Linked DNA regions of Homo sapiens: regions 1, 3 and 4 are each linked to region 2. The links are contacts of gene promoters, found by promoter capture Hi-C in blood cells and fetal thymus (Javierre and others, 2016). All regions are on one chromosome and are shown on one strand. Each heading gives the region's core, a stretch centred on a gene start or on the middle of the fragment in contact. The rest is flanking DNA. Distances are from core to core; before and after follow the strand shown.

Evidence for each region. Contacts are between HindIII fragments. The CHiCAGO score rates a contact against its expected background, and 5 or more counts as called.
Region 1: a fragment that was not itself captured here is called in contact with the fragment with the promoter of INTS1 in region 2 in 4 of 17 cell types (naive CD4 T cells, naive B cells, non-activated CD4 T cells and 1 more); the score reaches 5.2 in naive CD4 T cells.
Region 3: a fragment that was not itself captured here is called in contact with the fragment with the promoter of INTS1 in region 2 in 3 of 17 cell types (M1 macrophages, M2 macrophages and M0 macrophages); the score reaches 8.8 in M1 macrophages.
Region 4: a contact is called between a fragment that was not itself captured here and the fragment with the promoter of INTS1 in region 2, in 3 of 17 cell types (total CD8 T cells, total CD4 T cells and naive CD4 T cells). The highest score is 6.2, in total CD8 T cells.

Annotation. Positions count from the first base shown.
Region 1 is chr7:2,404,520-2,409,371 of GRCh38, forward strand. All of the region lies in intron 1 of CHST12 (carbohydrate sulfotransferase 12), which reads left to right. Among named protein-coding and RNA genes, the nearest start is that of CHST12, 3.3 kb to the left of the region's middle. RefSeq lists enhancers at 1,489-1,608, 2,459-2,578, 4,216-4,275, 4,286-4,405. The HindIII fragment of the contact is 867 bases long and covers 2,259-3,125 here.
Region 2 is chr7:1,502,293-1,507,723 of GRCh38, forward strand. INTS1 (integrator complex subunit 1) reads right to left here and starts at 2,097. Exons shown (of 48, transcript NM_001080453.3): 1 at 2,031-2,097; 2 at 1,611-1,709; 3 at 609-899. The coding sequence starts at 1,668. RefSeq lists a silencer at 1,743-2,302 and enhancers at 3,189-3,785, 3,411-3,600, 3,786-4,381. The HindIII fragment of the contact is 9,546 bases long and covers 106-5,431 here.
Region 3 is chr7:2,196,206-2,201,213 of GRCh38, forward strand. All of the region lies in intron 10 of MAD1L1 (mitotic arrest deficient 1 like 1), which reads right to left. LOC105375126 (a long non-coding RNA gene) reads left to right here and starts at 3,513. Exons shown (of 3, transcript XR_001745062.3): 1 at 3,513-3,588. The HindIII fragment of the contact is 6,509 bases long and covers 1-5,008 here.
Region 4 is chr7:2,366,476-2,371,861 of GRCh38, forward strand. It overlaps EIF3B (eukaryotic translation initiation factor 3 subunit B), which reads left to right. Exons shown (of 19, transcript NM_001037283.2): 8 at 50-116; 9 at 524-570; 10 at 2,997-3,207; 11 at 5,302-5,374. Among named protein-coding and RNA genes, the nearest start is that of EIF3B, 14 kb to the left of the region's middle. The HindIII fragment of the contact is 4,651 bases long and covers 1-4,071 here.

The sequences.
Region 1 (4,852 bases), core at 1,442-3,941, 900 kb after region 2:
GGACACCAGGCCCTACGGTGCTGTTCCCGGCTGTGGGTGGTTGGGGACAGCTCAGCGGGTCCCCCACTTACCCCCACGCGGGGACCCGGGTTAGCCCCTCACCGTGAGCATCTGGTGTTGGGAGTCAGGGCTGGTGTCTGAGTGAGGATGGAGAGAAAACAGGGGTAATGAGGAGATTGCTACACGAAGGTGCAACGCTTGAGATCTGAAAGAGCACCTGCCTGGAATGGCATAGATGTTTGATTTCCCTGCAAAGGAGTTTATGGGACTTTGGGCTGACGCTTTGGGGCCAGCAGTAACTGTCTGCTGTCACTCAGCTGACTCCAGCTTTATTATCAAACCTCCAATCGAGTGCAAGATGCTAAGCTGGGGTAGATGCCGGTAATAGCGTGGGCCTTGCCCTGGGAGCTCACGGCCAGCCTGGCTACAACTGTGTGGAGTTGAGACTGTGGTGCAGGCGTTAACAGAATGTGGCGACATTTTCCGACATTTTCCACAGTGGAGAGGACCTATGAATTGGGGCGTTTGGAGGCAAAGGGCATGCAGAGATGTGGAAGTGAAAGTGATGTTTGGGGGAGATGGTGGGTCGCCGTGTTCTTGATGAAGTGGGGTTTGAGGATTGGGTTGGAAGCTAAGACTGGAAGGCCGGGCGAGGTGGCTCGTGACTGTAATCCCAGCACTTTGGGAGGCAGAGGCGGGCGGATCACCTGAGGTCAGGAGTCCGAGACCAGCCTGGCCAACATGGTGAAACCCCATCTCTACTAAAAATACAAAATTTAGCTGGGCGTGGTGGTGCACACCTGAAGTCCCAGCTACTTAGGAGGATGAGTCAAGAGAATAGCTTGAACCTGGAGGCGGAAGTTGCAGTGAGCCGACACTGGGCCTCTGCACTCCAGCCTGGGCAACAGAGTAAAAAAAAGACTGGAAAGATGGGTTTCTGATTGTGCAGGGGCCTGAATGCTGTGTGAGGGAGTTTAAACTTTTATCCCTTTGGTGGTGGTTTGGGTGCGACGCGATTAGATGTGTTTCAGAAAAGTGGTCGTGGTGAGAATATGGGAGGTGGGTTTTGCCTCTGGGCAGTGGAGCTGAGTTGAGTAGCCTTGTGGGGCGTGGGTCTGGGGCAGTGAGAGAGTGGGGGCGGGCATGGAGCTGAAAGATGTTGCCAAATCCACTGGGCGGTGGCGCTTTGTGAGATGTGGCGACCTGTAACAGCGAGGGCAGCCGGGACTTCTCACCTGCGATGAGGAGCGCTGCGGCCAGGTGGGAGAGGAAGGGCCACACAAACACACGTGGGTTTTAGACCTGCAGAGTTGGCGGTATTGGTGGCCATCCTGGAGGAGATGTGACCTGGTGGAGAAGAGACAGCCTGTACAAGGAGGGAATCCCCAGGAACCCCAGTGGGAAGGGATCCAGAGCTGAAGAGAGGCCCGTTGGTTGGCTGACCTTGGGCGTGCAGTTCCTTGACTACGCACAGTCATTGAGGCTGGCAGGTGATTCTCTTCTAGTGTGGGTCAGGGGCTGAAGGAGCCATCAGTGGGAAAAGACGGGTTATTGATGATACTGAAACACATGCGGCTTGTTTGTCATTTAAAAAAACCGTACATCTTGAGTTTCGATTCTTAAGTTGTCTTTCTTTTCGGAGAGTAGCTGTTAGTTTCACACTTGCTTAGTGGGTCTGTGGCTGCAGGCGGGACTGTGGTTCTCCAGCCCTGGCCCACAGATGTGCCTGGAGATAATTGACTCTCCAACTTATTACTTCCTGCTGTTAAGGTGGTGGTTTCTGTAACTGTTTAGAAACTTTAAAGATATTTCAGAGAAGAATGGGAGACAGGTACAGTTGAGTACGGGGTGGGGGCACAGTTGAGTATGGGGTGGGGGCACAGTTGAGTACGGGGTGGGGGAACAGTTGAGTATGGGGTGGGGGCACAGTTGAGTACGGGGTGGGGGCACAGTTGAGTACGGGGTGGGGGCACAGTTGAGTACGGGGTGGGGGCGCGGTTGAGTATGGGGTGGGGGCGCAGTGCTGAACAGGGCACAGGAGGAGGAAGCGAACAGGGACCCTTTGGCTCCCAGAACATGACCAGCTGGGGCTTTTCCCTGTAGACAGGAGGATGGATGTGTCTTTGGGGAATCTGAGTAGCCCAAGAGAAAAGACCTAAAATTAATGACATCAGGAGGTCCCCAGTCAGCAGACCCAGCTGGATCCCTTGCTAACGAAGCCCGTCATTAATAACCCCCTCCCAGTGTTCAAGGCATCAAGCTTTAAAAATCCCCATCCCTTAAATATGAGCAGATAACCAAGGGCATCTGAAGAAAACCTCTGCTACAGGAGATTGAGACCAGAATACACACTGGGAAACCAGAGAGCGTGCAGGAAGGAGCCTTAGAAAGCAGGCTGTCATTAATGTCCACGCGGAGGTGAGCGAAAATATCGCGAACATGAGGCAAGAACAGGAAGCTCTAAAAAAAAGCCACCAAAAGGAGTATTCGAATATCCAAAAAGAGAACTCTCGGATGTAAAAAAAAAAAATAAAAGCAGAAATAAGAAAATCAGTTAGTGGGTGAAAGATAAAGTTGAGGAACTCCCTCAGAAAGTAGAACAGAAAAGCAACGAGGTGGCAAATGAGAGAAAAAAGAAACGGAAAGGATCAGATCAGGAAGTCAGCAGCTGAATAGTAAGAGCTTCAAAGCTGAGGTGAGAGGATCGTTTGAGGCCAGGAGTTCAAGACCAGCCTGGGCAACATAGCAAGACCCCCATCTCTACAACAAAATTTAAAAATTAGCCAGGTGTGGTGGTGTGCACCTGTAGTCCCAGCTACTTGGGAGGCTGAGGTGGGAGGATCACTTGAGCCCAGGAGTTTGAGGCTGCAGTGAGCTGTGATCATGCCACTGCCATCCAGCCTGGGTGACAGAGCAAGACCCCATCTCTAAAAAATAAAATAAAATACATTTTAAAAAGTTTCCAGAAGAAAAAAATAGGGAAAACAGGATGAAATTCACAAAATAATTTCCTAGAACCCAAACTTTCTGGGTTAAAGAGGCTCACCCAGTGGCCAGTACCACGGGTGAAAATGCAGGTATCCTTCACTTTCATAGCCTCTTCACTTCTCAGCTTGGATATTAAAAGCTTGGGAAGGCTGGGTGTGGTGGCTCATGCCTGTAATCCCAGCAATTTAGGAGGTAGGTGAATCACTGAGGTCAGGAGTTCGAGACCAGCCTGGCCATCATGATGAAACCCCATCTCTACTAAAAATACAAAAATTAGCCAAGCATGGTGGTGGGTGCCTGTAATCCCATACTCAGGAGGCTGAGGCAGGAGAATTGCTTGAACCCAGGAGGCGGGGGTTGCTGTGAGCCCAGATCGTGCCACTGCACTCCAGCCTGGGCAATAGAATGAGACTCCGTCTCAAAAATAAAATTTAAAAAATTAAAAGTCTGGGCAGCAAACTTGGATAGTGAGAGAGGCTGAGTTTCAGATAAAGACTAGTGAGAGCTTGGGAGGGGAAGGATTTATTTGAAAGCATGTCTGCAGCTGTTGACCCCAGAATTTGGATAGTGAGAGTTCAGAGGCCAGGCGCTGTGGCTCACGCCTGTAATCCCAGCACTTTGGGTGGCCGAGGTGGACGGATCACTTGAGGCCAGGAGTTTGAGACCAGCCTGGCCAACATAGTGAAACCCTGGCTAATACAAAAATTAGCCAGGTATGGTGGCAGGTGCCTGTAATCCCAGCTGCCCAGGAGGCTGAGACAGGAGAATTGCTTGAACCTGGGAGGCGGAGGTAACGGTAAGTGGAGATCATGCCATTGCACTCCAGCCCGGGCAACAAGGGTGAGACTCCGTCTCAAAAAAAAAAAAAAAAAAAAAAAAAAAAGATCCTTGCGTACCCTCTCCAGGACATACTGTTGTGAAATCTCAGAACAAGAGGAGAAAGTAAAAACAAATCACAAATAGGTCATCACAGGTCAAGAGGCAGAAGGTTAGAACATGTGGAAAAAGGCAGAAGAACTAACTACAATTAAAATGAAAAGAAGCAGAAGGGCTTGGGCTTTTTCAAAGCAGCACTGGGTGGCAGGAGACGGGAGGGCCTTGCTTGAGAAATTCTGAAGGATGCATTTGCAGCCTGGAAGTCTACACTCAGGCAAGGGAGGGTAGGGTAAAGACAACTTCAGACTTGCTCCCAGATTTGTTCCTCATGCTTTAAGGAGGTGATTGGCAGATGTAGTCTCCCCAGATGAGGCAGTAAGTCTAGACTGAGAGAGACTGGCTGGTGGGAACAGGATTTCCCCCAGGTGAGAGGTGAGAAGAACCTGCTGAAGGGAAATCCCAGCCAGGTGCTGGTGTGAAGAGCAGACATGTCCTGACCCCAGCTGGTCAGAGGCTCCAAGAGGAGATTCTTTGGGAGAAGATGAAATTAGCAGGACACCTGACATGCTGCAGCATCTGGAGAGGAGTTGATACAGTTGGCAGAGTTGGGGCGGGATTAGTGATAAGTACTAAACAAAGCAAATGAAAACACAAGGCTGTTATTAGTTCCAGGGAAAATAAACCATCGTGCGGGAAACGAAAAATAATTATGGTGTACTACAAGGCGCAGCTGTGGATAGCCTCGCCGCAATGATAGTAATTTATGTAAACACTGACTGCTGCTCTAATTGAAATTATGATGCACCTGGGCAGAGAAGGTGTGGGGAGGAGAGCGCTGCATTTTCGCCTGTCGCCTTGGGAAGTCAGTCGCTAATGCCCCAAGCTGAACAACCAAGGTTCACTCTGAAGGCAGACATTAAAAGAATTAGCTAAAAAGAATTATGGAGCGGGTAGGGCGTGGTGGTTCGCACCTGTAATCCCAGCACTT
Region 2 (5,431 bases), core at 847-3,346:
GTCACGGAGCCTTGAGAAATGGTCGTTGGGAAAATGGCGCAGAGGGGCAGGGGCGATTCTAGGCACACAGTTAAAGGCATTTCTGCGAGAACGGGACAGTGGTGAAGCTTACATTCCCCCGTTGATGTCCTTACTGTTCTGCTGCTTTTCAACTGAAAACAGGGAGGGGATCAACTCTTCTCTGTTGGTAACCAGGAGGGAAGGAGGAACCAAGTACACATCGCCTCCGCTCAGGTTGAGAGAGGAACGCACCAGGATGGGCAACCTTGAGAACAGACACCTGGGGTGTCGTCACGCCCGGTTTACCCCCAGGGCTCAGACAGTGCCCGTCACAAAGGGGGCGTCCAACAGACACATGAGACAAACAACTCAATAAGGGAGTGACCCGGTTCTCAAAGGGCAGCCACTGGCAGTGCAGGACGCAGATGCACACACGGGATAAGGGCATCTACGTGAGAAGCACTTCCAAGAACAAGCCACAAACATCCGCTCTCCCAAAGGACCTCGGCCATACGGGCAGCACTAGGCCTGGAGGGGGCCTTCCCTGAACACCTGATGGACGGCATGAGCTGAGGGGTGTTCTCGGGGGATGTCCACAGACTCATTACCTTCAATTGGCACCACAGATGGCTCTTTAATCGACGGAGAAATGGCTCGTTTTTCTGCCACTGCAGCCTCAGCCAGGCGCCCCAGGGCACTCAGAGGGGGTGTGGAGGAGAGTTTGGGGCGTTTGGTGAGACCGGTGAGGGCCGAGGCACTGGACAACGCGGCCGCCGCATCCCGCTTGCGCTCAGAAGGCAGGCCGGAAGGGGCTGGCTTCAGCAGGGTGGACGCCGTTTTCGATTCATTGGCCTGACCCTTTGAGCCCAGAGCAATGAAGTCTCCTGGGGGAGGGTGCCCTGCAGAGAAAGGAGAGAGAAAACCGGGCACATTTGCAACACCCAAGATGGAAAAAGACTGACTCTAACCTCCTGTTATGTCAGAGGGGATTAAACAAGGGTCAGAGGAGGCAAGGAAGAAGCCAGAGCTCACTCAGCAGCCTACAGCAGAGCTGGGACCAGCAGGATACGCACAGGTGATGGTGGACAGTCACGTAGCGCTAACCACAAACCAGGCCATCTCTGGTCTATCCAAATTAGTGTGCTTAGTAACCCCCGCCCCGAGTTTCCGCAATAGGTGCTATTACTCTAACTTTACAAGAGAGAAAGGGACACAGAGAGGTTAAGCGACGTGCCCAGCGTCACACAGCAGGCGAGTGGCAAAGTCCGGAGGATCTGAGCCGACAGTTCAGCCGCAGACCCCGTGCTACGCTACACTGTGCTGCCTCCCGCCTCCTGGCTGGGGAGACCTTCCGCTACTGTCGGCCGCCTTGCAGCTCAGCCTGAAACGAGATCACCGGGGTCCCGAAGGAAGTCGCCACTGTCCCAAGCCTCCCAGGGACTCTCAGAGCCGCTGAGGACCGAGAGCAGTGTTTCCAGACCGAATTCCTGGAAACAGCCGCGGCTGCGGAACAACCAAGCCCAACGCAGGATCCGCGGCAGCTGAGATCCCCAAAGACCCCCAAAGACCCCCAAAGACCCCCGGGCTGCAGAGCGAGGAGGGAGACGCACCTGAGGGTTTGGCCGCGGCGCTGGGCCGGCGCACCGTGGTGGGCTTGGCCCGGTTCATCCTGCCCCGTCCCTCGCGGCTCCCGGCGGCTGCGGCGTCACCTGCGGAGGAGCCAGCGTGCGGTCATTCCTTCACTCATTCGCTCGTTCGCTCGCTCATTCGCTCCCTTGCCGCACGGGGCTTGGGCCTGGGACCCGGGGACAGTGGTCCCGCGCCCGCCCGGCGGGGCGATGCTGCAGGAGCTGCAGGGACCCCGCCTCCCAGCCGCCCGGGAGCGGCTCAGTCGGGCGGCAGCAGGCGACGCGGACGCCGGGCTGGAGGCGGCAGAACCAGAAGGGACGGCCCAGAGGCCGGGAGCGGTAGCCGGGAGAACCAGGCGCTCGCCCGGCAATGAGGAAGCGCCCAGGCCGCGGCTCACTTACCTCTGGCCCATCGCGACCGGAGCGCCGCCGCCGCCACCCGGCCACCCCGGAATCGGAAACCGATCTCACCGCCCTCGAGGACCCGACTTCCGGAACAACCGGAAGGAAAACAGTGCGGCGGGAAGCGGGCCCAGAAGGAGGCGCGAGAGGCCCGCGGCGCCGGCCTGATGCCTGCAGCGCCCCATGGCGGCGGGAGGCGGGCTGGCCGGCGCCGCGCGCATGTGGTCCGGTCCAGGTGGGTCGGCGGCGCGGGGCAGGCGCTGGCCTCTCCATTCACAGGTGGTGCTGGCGTTGCGAAGGGACGCACTCCAGGACGCACGGCGGGGAGGAGTGGCGTCAGGGATCCGCGGATGAGTCAAGTGGCAGGTTCTGCACGTCCCGGAGAGCGGGGGCGGCCGGGGCGCAGGCACTGGCGAGGGGGCGCAGCCCGGGGGGCTCCCGGGGAGAGACCCTGTCTCAAATAATAATAATAATAATAATAATAGCTTTATTGAGATAGAACTCGTGTTCCACAAAGTTCACCCTTTTCTTTTTTCTTTTTTTTTTTGGCACGGAGTCTCGCTCTGTCGCCCAGGCTGGAATGCAGTGGCGCGACCTCGGCTTATTGCAACCTCCACCTCCCAGGTTCAAGCGATTCTCCTGCCTCAGTCTCCCGAGTAGCTGGGATTACAGGCGCCCGCCACCATGTCTGGCTAATTTTTTTGTGTTTTTAGTAGAGACGGGGTTTCACCATGTTGGCCAGGCTGGTCTCGAACTCCTGACCTCAGGTGGTCCGCCCGCCTTGGCCTCCCAAAGTGCTGGAATTACTGCGCCCGCCCCGCCCCCACGCCTTTTTTTTTTTTTTTTTAATGGAAACACTGATGGGAACAAAACTCAAAAGACACAAAAGATCATACAGTTGCCAGGTGTGATGCTCATGCCTGTAATCTCAGCACTTTGGGAGACCAAGGCAGGAGGATCGGTTGAGTTCGAGACCAGCCTGAGCAACATAGCAAGACCCCCATCTCTACAAAAAAATAAAAATTAGCTGGGCATGGTGGCATGAACCTCTAATCCCAGCCCTTTGGGAGGCCAAAGTGGGAGTCTGAGACCAGCCTGGGCAACATAGTGAGACCCTATCTCTACAAACAAAAATCAAGAATAAATTAGCCAGGCATGGTGGTGCATGCCTACGGTCCCAGCTACTGAGGAGGCTGAGGTAGGAGGATCTCTTCAGCTTGGGAGGTCAAGGCTGCAGTAAGCTATGATGGTGCCACTACGCTGCAGCCGGCCGACAGAGCGAGACCCTGTCTAAAAAAAAATAAAAATAAAAGGTGGGGGAATCATCCAGTCAAAGGGTCGAAGGTCTCCCCTGACCCCTGAGCAGCTGGTCCCCTCCCCTGGAGTCAGCCTGTGTTCTGATTTGTGCCTGTGTTCCCGGCTTTTCCGTGTGCGTTCAGGCAGCCACCCGTGTGCCTCCCTCTGCCTTGTCACCCTGCAGGTAGCGCACGGCTCCTCTTTTCTGCACCTGGCTTTTGCCACTTAACCACATCTTGGAGATCTGTTCCCAGCAGGGCACTGACTCGAACGCTGCCCCGCCACCGAGGGAGTCCTGAGCACCGCCTGCCCGGTGTGTCCCATCTCCTCATCCAGGGACCGCAAGGCAGAGCTGGTCTCCCTGTGCCCCTGAAGTTGGGTGTGGCCATTTGACTGTGGCCTCAGTGAGGCTCATGGCCCCAGGCTGCAGCCTGAGAACTGCTGTGTGACCCGCCACGGTCTCTTTCCACTCCTGTGGGCACCAGCTGGGTCCCCGCAGGACCCCAAGGGCTCCAGGGCCCTGCACCCTGCGCTGTGTGGGCAGCGAGTCCGGAAGGAGACGTCCGTGGTGCCCATGGGAGGAGAGGCCGGTCAGGCGCGGATCCCTGCCGGACGCCAGGCGGGGGCTGTGCGGCTTCATCCCTCTACAGTTTCTCAATCTGTCCCTCAGGGTAACTCTCTAAGGGGAGGGGAGATCCGATGGGGTAATGCTTCCTCCTCCTGTCACCTGAATGGGAGCACCCTGCACAGAGCTTCCTCTGCCCCGCCACCTGCCTCTCCTCATCCTCTGACCAGCATCACCGCCCCTGCATGCGGGGCCTGTGCCTTCGGCAAATGCCCTCACCCGGGCCCAGGCCAGAACCTCAGGGTCGACCTTGAGAACAACTACCTCCTCCTCCCCCTCCCCCTCCCCCTCCCCCTCCTCCTCCCCCTCCTCCCCTTCCTTCTTCTCCCCCTCCTCCCCCTCCCCCCTCCTCTCCTCCTCCCCCTCCCCCTCCCCTCCTTCCCCTCCCCCTCCTCCCCCTCCCCCCTCCCCTTCGTTCCCCTTCTTCTCCTCCTCCCCCTCCTCCCCTCCTCCCCCTCCTCCTCCTCCTCCTCCTCCTCCTCCTGTCAACCTTGACCACCTCTTCCCCCTTCTCTCTCCTCCTGCTCCTCGTCTTCCTCGTTCTCTAAAAACTCAGGAGTCAACCTTGACCACCTCCTCCTCCCTCTTCTCTTTCTCCTCCGTCTCCTTCCCCTCTTCCTCTTCCTCCCCCTCCTCTACCTCTTTGCCTTCCTCCTCCCTCTCCCCGCCTCTTTTTGAAAACAGCTTTTTTGAGTTATGATTGACGTCTGATAAACTGCAGGTGTGTAAAGGGTGTAAAGGGTGCACACTGATGCGTGTTGACATTCACACGTACCTGTGGCCCCATCCCCCATCCCTTTCAACCCTGTAACGAACATTCCCAAACCACCCCTGACTTGTCCCCAGGCCGCCAGGGCGCCACTTTCTGTCCCTGGAGAGGCGCTGTTTGCTCTTCTGGAGTCTGTGTGAATGAAAGCACACAGTGCACGCTCCCTGGCCAGCTGCTCGGCGTCATTATTCTTTTTTTTTTTTTGAGATGGAATCTCGTTCTGTCACCCAGGCTGGAGTGCAGTGGCGCGATCTCCGTTCACTGCAACCTCTGCCTCCTGGGTTCACGCCATTCTCCTGCCTCAGCCTCCCGAGTAGCTGGGACTACAGGCGCTGGCCACCACGCCCGGCTAATTTTTTTTTTTTTTTGTATTTTTAGTAGAGGCGGGATTTCACCGTGTTAGCCACAACGGTCTTGATCTCCTGACCTCGTGATCCTCCCGCCTCGGCTTCCCAAAGTGCTGGGATTACAGGCGTGAGCCACCGCGCCCGGCCTGGCATCATTATTCTGAGACTTACCCCAGCGTTGCAGGCATCGGTGGCTTCTGTCAGCTGCTGAGTAGCACCCGCCAGATGGATTCCAGATTCCAAGGATGGCTTCTCCACTGATGGCCCGGGCAGGACCACAGGCGTTCCGTCATCCTGGGGGGGTGTGCAGGGTCTGCCCTGTGCTCTTCATCGGCGTCTCCCTGATGAGTAATGATGAGCGTTT
Region 3 (5,008 bases), core at 922-3,421, 690 kb after region 2:
GATTATCAACAGGCTTTGTCAACTACACAGCAGCTCTCCAGAGCCAACCACCACCGTCAACAGTGCCATCCTGCCAGCAAAGTGAAGACCCTCTTGAGAACAGGCTCTGTCTTTAAACAAATAAACTCTAGAAACTCTTGTAAGCCACCTGTTTCCAAACCAGGGAAAACGTCTGGCCTTCATTCCCACCAGCGTCATTCATATCCAACAAGGCCGTCTCCAACTAAGATACTCCCGCAAAACGCTCCTGCGGCATCTTCCAAAAGATTGCATCTGAGGAGGCACCCCTGTTGTTTTCATTGTTTAAAGCTGTCTGTGTGTGTGCACTACGTGGGCAGACTGTGCTGTGCTCGTCACAGCGTCGCCAGAGCCAGCCCAAAGCCTGGCAAACGGCAGGTCTCCAAATAAATGTTCAGATGAACAAACAAACGAGCGTCTCCAAAATCACAGTGCTACCCACAGACACTGTGGTCACAAAGGAACAGGCATTCACCTGAAGAGGAAACAGAAAAACAGGGAGAGTCTGGCCTTCAACACGAACCCTCTTCAGAAGTCAGAAGGCCTCGGGCTCCCTGCTCACAGGAACAGTGCGGCTCAATTCTAACTCTCACTACAACGCGGCTGACTCCACGGCTCCTACTCCATGAGGCTCTCAACTGACAACAGGAAACACCGCCCACCCTCCCCACACTTCGGGGCTGCTGAAACCTGCAGCGGGTCAGACAGCCCCAGGGACTTCCACCAGCAGGGTCCTGCCAAGGCGCCAGGTCCTCGCCCTGCGAATTCAGTGAGGAAAGAGGCCCCTTCACAATTGGCGGATGTGCTCCTCCCTGATGAAGACCTTCTGCGGCTCCTGTGACCTGCAGGACGCGGTCCAAACCACCCTCAGGACAGGACAGATCCCTGCCAACCTGTCCAGCTTCTGCCACATCCCAGGAGAACTGTGGTTAGAACCAGCTGGAGCCACACAACACTGTCCGAACACGCAGCATCTGGCCAACCTGTGTGCTGCCAGCACCCACCCTATCTGGAACATGCTGCCAGCCTCTCAAGTGTCATCTCTTCAGGAGCCACGCTTGACCTAGCAGACATATGCCCGGCTAGATCTGAGAGGACTGGAAAACAGCCCCTGACTTATAGCTGTATCCCCAGCACCCAGCACCAGGCCTGCACACCTATGTGTTCAAGAAGCACTCACCAGTGAAGAAGAGGAAGAAACCCCACTGCTCTGGAGGCTTCTAGCCTCTCCTCACTCCTCCTCTCATCTCCCGCCCCGACCCACGCATCACTCCGCCGACGCCTGGTACACACGACGTGCACTGCACAGCCACCTTCTCCCTGCACACGGGCCCAAGCTCGGACACAGGCACGACCAGGACTGGCGGGCTGCAGAGCTCTCTGACCCGGTGAGGCACTGGCCCTCAGGCTCAAAGCCACCTGCAAACGCCAAAATCCCTCCAGACTCGGGCCAGCTGTCTGCTCCTCTGGCTCTGCCACTCCCCTAGGCCGGCTCATCCCTGCCCCTCACTGGGCAGGCCAGCCCTAGGGCTCCTCTAGGAGCCATGCAGGCCTGACATCGGCTGCTGTCTGACACCTCCTTCTGGCTACATCACTGACACTTCAAACACACATTCCCAAAACAGAGTTCACAACCCCTCCCTGCCTGAGAGCCAAAACTGGTCCTAGCCCCCGGGTCCCAGCCCCCAGGTCCCAGCCCCCAGGCCCCAGCCTGTGACTGACCCCATCTCCCTGCACCCACAGGGCCCATCAGCCCCTCCTCTAAGAGCAGGCCTGGGAACAGGCCCAGGACGGGGCAACCACACCCAGTTCTGCCCCACAAGCGCCCCCGCTCATCCCAAGGTCCACCATGAGTTTGGGTTTTTTTTTTTTTTTTTGGAGGAAGGGTTATCTTTATATTTTTATTTTTAAAAATAGAGATAGGGTCTCACAGTGTTGCCCAGGCTGGTCTTGAACTCCCAGGCTCAAGCGATCCTCCCACTTCAGGCTCCCAAAGTGCTGGGATTACAGGTGTGAGCCAAGGCACCCAGCCCAGCGTGGATTTGTGCCAGGAAGAGCCAGCAGGAGCTGACCAGCCCCATGGAAGCCTCCAGGCCGGCTGCCTGCTCTCATCTCCCAAGAGCCCGCCTTTGCTTCTGCCAGCCACTCACGCTCTCCACAGGCTGCAGCCAGGTACACACCCCCCTTCAAGCAACAAAACCACTGCCTGAGCACCTGGCCTGCTCTAAGCCCAGGGCTGAGACAAGGGGGAGCCAGCCACACACAACACCAGGAGCGCTGGCATCGCCGGAGCAAGGAGCCCGTGATGGCCGTCCACCCGGGACAGCAATCGCGCTCTGCGGCACGAGGCTTTCAACAGAGGCGAGTGCTTCCTGGGGGTCAAGAGCATGGAACACACACTTCAGGCCCCCTCTCCAGGCTGCAGGCCAACAGGCGTCCATGAGACAGACACTCCCTGATGTGTCCCACTCAGTTCTCCTGCCGCTGAGTGACTCTCCCAGGGAGGCCCAGAGCCACATGCTCTTGGTAGCCCCTACTCCTCCAGGTGTTAAAGCAGGTGCCCATGTACAGTCCACAAGCACAGGCCATCAGGCTGGGCAAGGATGGGCAAGGAACCAGGCCCCTGCCCTTTGAGGCTCAGGAGCTCCAAGCTACAGAATAGGGTTCCAAAGCTCCAGCCACTCGGAGGACACACAGGCCACAGGAAGCCGGCGACCAGTCCACAGAGAGACGCGCTGTGGGGCCCGACAGGCTGAGGTCAGGCAGTGGGATCCCCCCTTCACAGTCCTCCCGGCCTTGGGCGGGGCTATCCAGGAGGGGGCTGCCCCTCCCTGCCAGAGTGCACTGGGGCCTGTATGATGCCAGCCTGAGAAAGATGCGCAACTCCAGCTCCACCTGCACGGAGATGCCCCACAGCAGATCCCTGCCAAAATGGCATTTGCAAAGCGAGGAAACTGAGCCCCAGGAAGGCCACAATGATCAAAAACGGTCTCACTGCAACTTCCAGATACATTTTCTAGGCCTCTGGTTTTGGCCTTTTTAAATGTTGGCATATGGACTAAGGAATGGAATACCTAACTGCTCTCCAAGAAAGGAGTTTGTTACTTCTGGGTCACAGATTCCACACGTTCACCTTTCTGGCCTTCATACCTCACGTGTCACAGCCAAGACTCCTAGGAGGTCCCCTGCCTGCCGTCATGAAGGGCGCCTGCAGCCTGGTGCGCCACCCCCACATGCCCTGCACGCGGCAAACCGCTCAATAAGGACTGCAGTGAACACTTTCTTTAAATCATTGATGGTTTTCTTAATCATCTTAGAATCACTCTGCTACACGGATGTCCCTGGAGTTTCGATTCCTAAATCAGCAGTCTTCCACTCCGCATCCGCGCCCCCGCAGTGCCCCGCCTGGCACGGGCAGGGGTGCCTCCCAGACAACGGAAACCAGACGAGGGCCAGGCCAGGCAGACACACCGGGCAGCCACTGAACTGCTGGGCCAAGACCTCCAGCCTCCCAAACCCAGATTCCTGGTCCTAGGAGACGGCTTTCTCAGCTGCAGCCCAGACTCCGCGGTAAGGCCACAACCCAACCCACCACCCACCTAGGTGCTTCCCAACGCCATGCTGGCCAGCAGGGCCCACACTCCGCACCATCCAGGTCAGCTGGACCAGTCCCCAGCTTAGGGCAGACAGTGAAGCCTGGATGAAAGGGATGGGAGAGCCCCCTGCAGTCACTGGTGACAAATCCCCCAGAGTTCCAGGAAGCCACACTCACAAAGGCCCGAGGGCAAGGGAGGGGTAACTGCCCAACACTCTCCATGAAGCCAAGGGTCTCAGAGCTCTTCCCACGCCTGCCCTCCATCCTCCACCCCTCCCGGGGCGCACCCACGACAGGTGGAGGGTGAAGAGCGGGACCAAGGCCTGCCGGCCAGGTGTGCACCACCCTACGCTAACATAGCACGCGGGGCGCCCACCCAACCACCCCACACCCGCCCCGGGCCGCCTGCCACCCTGGAATGCAGGGTGGACACTTGCGTTCACCTGGAACCTCTTCTCCACCTCATCCACATCCTCCTCAGGACTCCCCACCAGACGAAAGTCCCATGGCAACAGCCGGATCTTGTTCTCCACTGGGCCCCCGACACCAGGCACCAGGCCTGCACACAGGGGGTCTAAGGAAGGTTCGCTGGCCTGGCTCGGAGCCCTGCTCCTCAGCACCTGGCTGTGTAACAGAGCCCCAGGGTCCACACACAGCTGCCAGTGAAGGTCTCTGCATTCTGCCCAGGTAAGACACGCACACGGTACTTCCGATCGTGGGAGATCAGAGCTCTCTGCACCTGGATAACAGTGGAAACATCGTCAAACAAAAGCCAGGAAAGTCAGATCACTTAGTCCACATGAGCCGCCCCACAGGCTGGTGCTGACTGGCTTGTGATGAAGTGATCATCTCACAGCACTTCTGTGAACGCAAGCCCGCTCTCCCCACCGCGGCTCTGCACAAACGGTGCTACCACGAGGACCGCCTGCTTCATGCACACGGCCCCCCTGCAGCCACTGAGCGTGCAAAGGCTGGTCCACCCTTCGGCCCAGCCTCCCCTCCCGCCTGTCCAGCAGAATCAGGGCACCTGATTCCAGGTGACCACACCAGTGAGAAGCGTGCAGGAGCTGGGAGGAGCGGGATGCGGGTGCCGAGTGACCGTGGGTTCCAGGAATTCAACAGCTCAGGATCTCCTGTTCCTCCCAAGAACCCAGGCCACGCAGGGTAGGTGGAGGGCGGGAAGGGTGGGTGGTGCAGGCAAGACCAGCAGCTCCTGACACAAATGACAGCTACAGCTGGCTGCAGGGAGTGACCCCAGGTGATCCTGTAGAGGTCACACCTCACAGCCCCAAAGCTGACGTTGAGGAATGTTGGGTGGGGAGCTGTGGAGCCCCGTAGCCTGCCTGAGACCCCAGCTCTCCGAAGGCCATGGCACTGCTGGGAAGTCCTCGGAGA
Region 4 (5,386 bases), core at 496-2,995, 860 kb after region 2:
TAGCCTTTGTCTTTTCATGGGAATACCCTGGCACTTTTGTTTTTCTTAGGTGGAGCCATGATGGCAAATTCTTTGCCAGAATGACCCTGGATACGCTTAGCATCTATGAAACTCCTGTAAGTGGCCTCAGTGATGGCAAACGCCCCGTCCGGTCCTTGCTTGTAACCGGGGTGTGGTGCCTTTCCTTATTTGTGCTAGAAGAGGAGGAGGAGGTTTCACAGATGCATAGGAAAGGCCTGTCTCCTGTGCCTTTTTAACTGCCCCTGCTCTGGGCAGAGCTCTTCAGTCACTCCTGCCCACCTGGCGCAGCCGTGGGAAGTCCTGGATGGGAGTTAATGCAGTGGGCTTCAGAACTGCAGTTCTGGGTGGCGGGTGGGTGGATGGGTTCACTGTCACGCTCTGTGTGCACTGCCCCCTAGGCAAACTCACATCAGACTCTTGTTTCCTTTTGTAAAAAGTTAGGTGTGTTTCTGAGACACTGACATGATTTGACTCAACTGCAGCCTTCCTTTTTTTTGGGCAGTCTATGGGTCTTTTGGACAAGAAGAGTTTGAAGATCTCTGGGATAAAGTGAGTATTCTTATCAGTTTGGTGTCTTAGTGTGTTCAGGCTGCTTAACACAATACCAAAAAAAAAAAAAAAAACACAATACCATAGGCTGGGTGGCTTATGACAGCTGAGATTTCTTTCTCCCAGTTCTGGAGCTTGGGAGCTTGAGGTCAGGGTGCCTGCAGACTGTCTGGTGACGGCCCACCTCCCTCCTAGTGGACAGCCCCTCGGTCCAGCCTTCCCTGGAGGAAGGCCTCCGTGGCCTGTTCTGTAAAGTCTCTCATCTCATTCCCAAGGGCTTCCCCCTCAGGACCTCCCACCCCCCAAAAGGCCCCACCCCATGCCGTCACCCCAGGGGGTTAGAATTTCACCCTGTGAATCTGGGGGACACAGACGTGGTCCATTGCAGTTGGTTTCCTTTATTTGCTGTCTCTCCTTTAGCACTCAGCTTTTTGTTGTTGTTGTTAGAGACAGAGTCTCGCTCCGTCAGGCTGGAGTGCAGTGATACGATCTTGGCTCGCTGCAACCTCCACCTCCTGGGTTCAAGTGATTCTTCTGCCTCAACCTCCCGAGTAGCTGGGACTACAGGCATGTGCCACCAAGCCCGGCTAATTTTTGTATTTTTAGTAGGGATGGGGTTTCACCATGTTGGCTGGGCTGGTCTCAAACTCCTGACCTTGTGATCTGCCCGCCTCAGCCTCCCAAAGTGCTGAGATTACAGGCGTGAGCCACCATGCCCAGCCTGTCACTCAGTTCTTAACCAGTTGGAGAGAAAACGGTGAGTTTGTTCTTTTTTTAAAATTTTTTTTTTTTTTTTTTTTTTTTTTTTTTTTTTGAGGCAGAGTCTTACTCTGTCTTGCAGGCTGGTGTAGAGTGGCGAGATCTTGGCTCACTGCAATTTCCACCTCCTGGGTTCAAGTGATTCTCCTTGCCTTAGACTCCCAAGTAGCTGGGACTGCAGGTGCCTGCCACCATGCCTAGCTAATTTTTGTATTTTTAGTAGAGATGGGGTTTCACTGTGTTGGCCATGCTGGTCTCAGAACTCCTGACCTCAAGTGATCTGCCCACCTCAGCCTCCCAAAGTGCTGGGATTACTGGCGTGAGCCACCACACCCAGCCATTTTTAAATCTTTTTTGAGACAGAGTCTTACTCTGTTGCCCAGGCTGGAGTACAGTGGCGTGATCTCGGCTGACTGCAGCCTTCACCTCCCAGGTTCAAACGATTCTGGTGCTTCAGTCTCCTGAGTAGCTGGAATTACAGGCGCGCAACCACTACGCCCAGCTAATTTTTTGTATATTTTAGAAGAGTCGGGGTTTCACCATGTTGGCCAGGCTGGTCTCGAACTCCTGACCTCAAGTGATCCGCCTGCCCGCCTCAGCCTCTCAAAGTGCAGGGATTACAGGTGTGAGCCACCGCGCCCGGCCTAAGGTGAGTTTGTTCTGGACACAAGGATGGAGGCTTGAGTCAGTGGGCAGCAAGGCTGCTCAGCATTGGGCCCGCCACCCTTGAGGCACCACTTCAGTGACCCCTTCCCGTGCCTAGAAATGAATTTTCAAGGCCAGAGCCTTGAGTCGGCTTCCTTCCATCTACCTCGTCTTTGATCTAGAAACTGAGGAGGGTGGGGTTTCCAGCCTTTTAAGGAAAAGAGGGGACTCTGCTTAGGTGAAAGGTTTTCCTGGTACTCTTCCATCCGAGGCAGGGTTTGGGGAGCCTTCGGCTCATTTTCACCAGCAAAGAATGGGCACGTTTTTATTTATCGCAAAACTTGGGACTGGTCAGTATCACGGCAGTGAACTTCCAACAATCCAAGGACATTGACGTTTCTTCTTTCGTTTTTACATTCTTGGGCAAAATTATGGCTTATAAAATGAAAAGACCAGGACGTTGGTTCTCAAAAAATGCAAAACAGCACATAGCGTGTATAAAGATGTTTTTCATGTAGGTGAGCTCAGGAGCCGTTCGTTACAGCAGCTCTTCTGTAGAGTAGTTGATAAAGTGGAGGGAGCTGCCCTTGTTCTTGCTCATTCCTTACACTTGATTTGCCATTTTCCCCATTTGCACCTTAATTAATCTTTAGATGACATGTAGCCAGATCCGTCAGCCTAAAACTTATTTGCCTCAAAGCAGCAGTGTGCGGTGTCTTAAGAGTGGGCTGACGGAGCCCAGGCTGGAGTCCATATGAGTCTGTGCGTGATGGTGGGGTTGCTAATATTCTGTCTGCATTCACTCCTTGTCACAGTGAGCACAGTAGTGCCACAGGGTCCTGGCGAGGACCTATGAAGCTGCGCGGCATGCCCAGAGCAGTGGCTGTGCAGAGGGAGCGCTCAGCGTCAGCTGTGACAGCATTGAGCTTCTATATAGCAAATGAGTTGTTCTATTCTCTTCTGCTTTTCAGTTTCGTCATCACTTGGTCTTTGCTTTAACATTTTATTTTCCTGTTCTGCAGAGACTTTTCTTGGTCTCCTGGTGGTAACATAATCGCCTTCTGGGTGCCTGAAGACAAAGATATTCCAGCCAGGGTAACCCTGATGCAGCTCCCTACCAGGCAAGAGATCCGAGTGAGGAACCTGTTCAATGTGGTGGACTGCAAGCTCCATTGGCAGAAGAACGGAGACTACTTGTGTGTGAAAGTAGATAGGACTCCGAAAGGCACCCAGGTATGTAGATTCCCACAGGAACTGACGATTCCTTATCCTGAGCTCTGAAGTGGCCACCGTATTGTTTGGAGGGTGTTAATGGATTTTTTTTTTTTTTTTTTTTTTTTTTTTTTGAGATGGAGTCTCACTCTGTCACCAGGCTGTAGTGCAGGAGTGCGATTTCGGCTCACTGCAGTCTCTGCCTCCTGGTTTCAAATGATTCTTCTGCCTCAGCTTCCCAAGTAGCTGGGACTATAGGCGTCCACCACCACGCTTGGCTAATTTTTGTATTTTTATTAGAGACAGGGTTTCACCATGTTGGCCAGGCTGGTCTTGAACTCCTGACCTTAGGTGATCTGCCCGCCTTGGCCACCCAAAGGGCTGGGATTACAGGCGTGAGCCACCGTGCCTGGCTGAGAATATTATTTTCTTTCTAAGCACAAGGAGTAGTATACTCAAGATTTATTTTTTTATTTTTTTATTTTTGGTGGTTGATCATTTAATATTTATTTTATCAAAAAATTGCCTGAGTTGGCTGGGTGTAGTGGCCCATGCCTGTAATCCCAGCACTTTGGGAGGCCGAGGTGGGCGGATCATGAGGTCAAGAGATTGAGACCATTCTGGCCAACGTGGTGTGAAACCCCATCTCTACTAAAAGTACAATAATTAGCTGGGCGTGGTGGGAGGCTCCTGTAGTCCCAGCTACTCGGGAGGCTGAGGCAGGAGAATCGCTTGAACCCAGGAGGCAGAGCTTGCAGTGAACAGAGCGAGATTGCGCCACTGCACCCCAGCCTGGCGACAGAGCCAGACTGCGTCTCACAAAAAAAAAGAAATTCCTGAGTTTTCCCTCTAATAGAAGTATTCTTCTTTCTTTTATGTTAAGAAAGCTTTAATTGACATGTAGTTCACATGCCTGAAAACACCCCTTTAGAGTGGTGAACTGGTTCAGTGGTTTTTCGTGTGTTCAGAGTTATGCAGCCACCACCACTCATTTCAGAACGTTTTCATCGGCTGGGTGCGGTGGCTCCCCCGGGGTGGGAGGGAGGATAGCTTGAGGCTAGGAGTTTCAGACCAGCCTGGGAAACACAGTGAGACCCCATCTCCACAGATAATTTTTAAAAGATAGGAAAAAGGCCGGGCACGGTGGCTCACGCCTGTAATCCCAGCACTTTGGGAGGCTGAGGCGGGGCATCACAAGGTCAGGAGATCGAGGGTTTAGTAGAAACCCCGTCTCTACTAAAAATGCAAAAAATTAGCCAGGCGTGGTGGCGGGTGCCTGTAGTCCCAGCTACTCGGGAGGCTGAGGCAGGAGAATGGCGTGAACCCGGGAGGCGGAGCTTGCAGTGAGCCGAGATTGCACCACTGCACTCCAGCCTGGGCAACAGAGTGAGACTCCGTCTCAAAAATAAATAAATAAATAAATGTTTTTGTCACCCTACAAAGAAACAACATACCTGTTAGCAGCCTCTCCGCCCAGCTCCTGGCATCACGAATGTCTATGATTTCCCTATTCTGAACACACAGCTGGAATCGGATACTATGCCACCTTCTGTGTTTGACCTCCTTCACGGAGCACAGCGTTCCCACAGCTGGTCCACGGTGCTGAGTGTCAGCAGTAATCTCTTGTTGGGTGGACCCCGTTTCTTGGCCTCCTTCCTCTGTTGATGGACATCAGGGCAGTTTTCCCTCAGACTCCTCGAGTAGGGCAGGACTTCTTGAAGGTTATGGCTACAGGACACCCCACTGTCTGAAGTGGTTTACCCAGCCCCATTGGTGTGCCTTTAGGGCCCTCAGGACCCTGGCCTGCAGCCTGCAGTGTGGACCCTGGGACTGCTTGTGCCCAAGTGTGGCGGGCAGGGCGGCTCCTGGAGGTGGGATCTGGGTCAGAGTTACTTCATGCATGTCCAGTGGCTTCCAGTAGACGTGGTGCCGGCAGTTCTCCAGCCTTAGAACCGTCTTCCATCCTGAGGGCTGTGGCTTTCATCACTGCACATGCTCGTGTGTGAACCAGGCATGCACACTGAATCTTTCATTGTGACGTTGATCTTTGATTTAAACCTTTTCTCATATTTTCACTGTCCAGAATGTCACCCCTTCCCCCTTTTTTTTAAACAGGGTGTTGTCACAAATTTTGAAATTTTCCGAATGAGGGAGAAACAGGTACCTGTGGATGTGGTCGAGATGAAAGGCAAGTTGTATT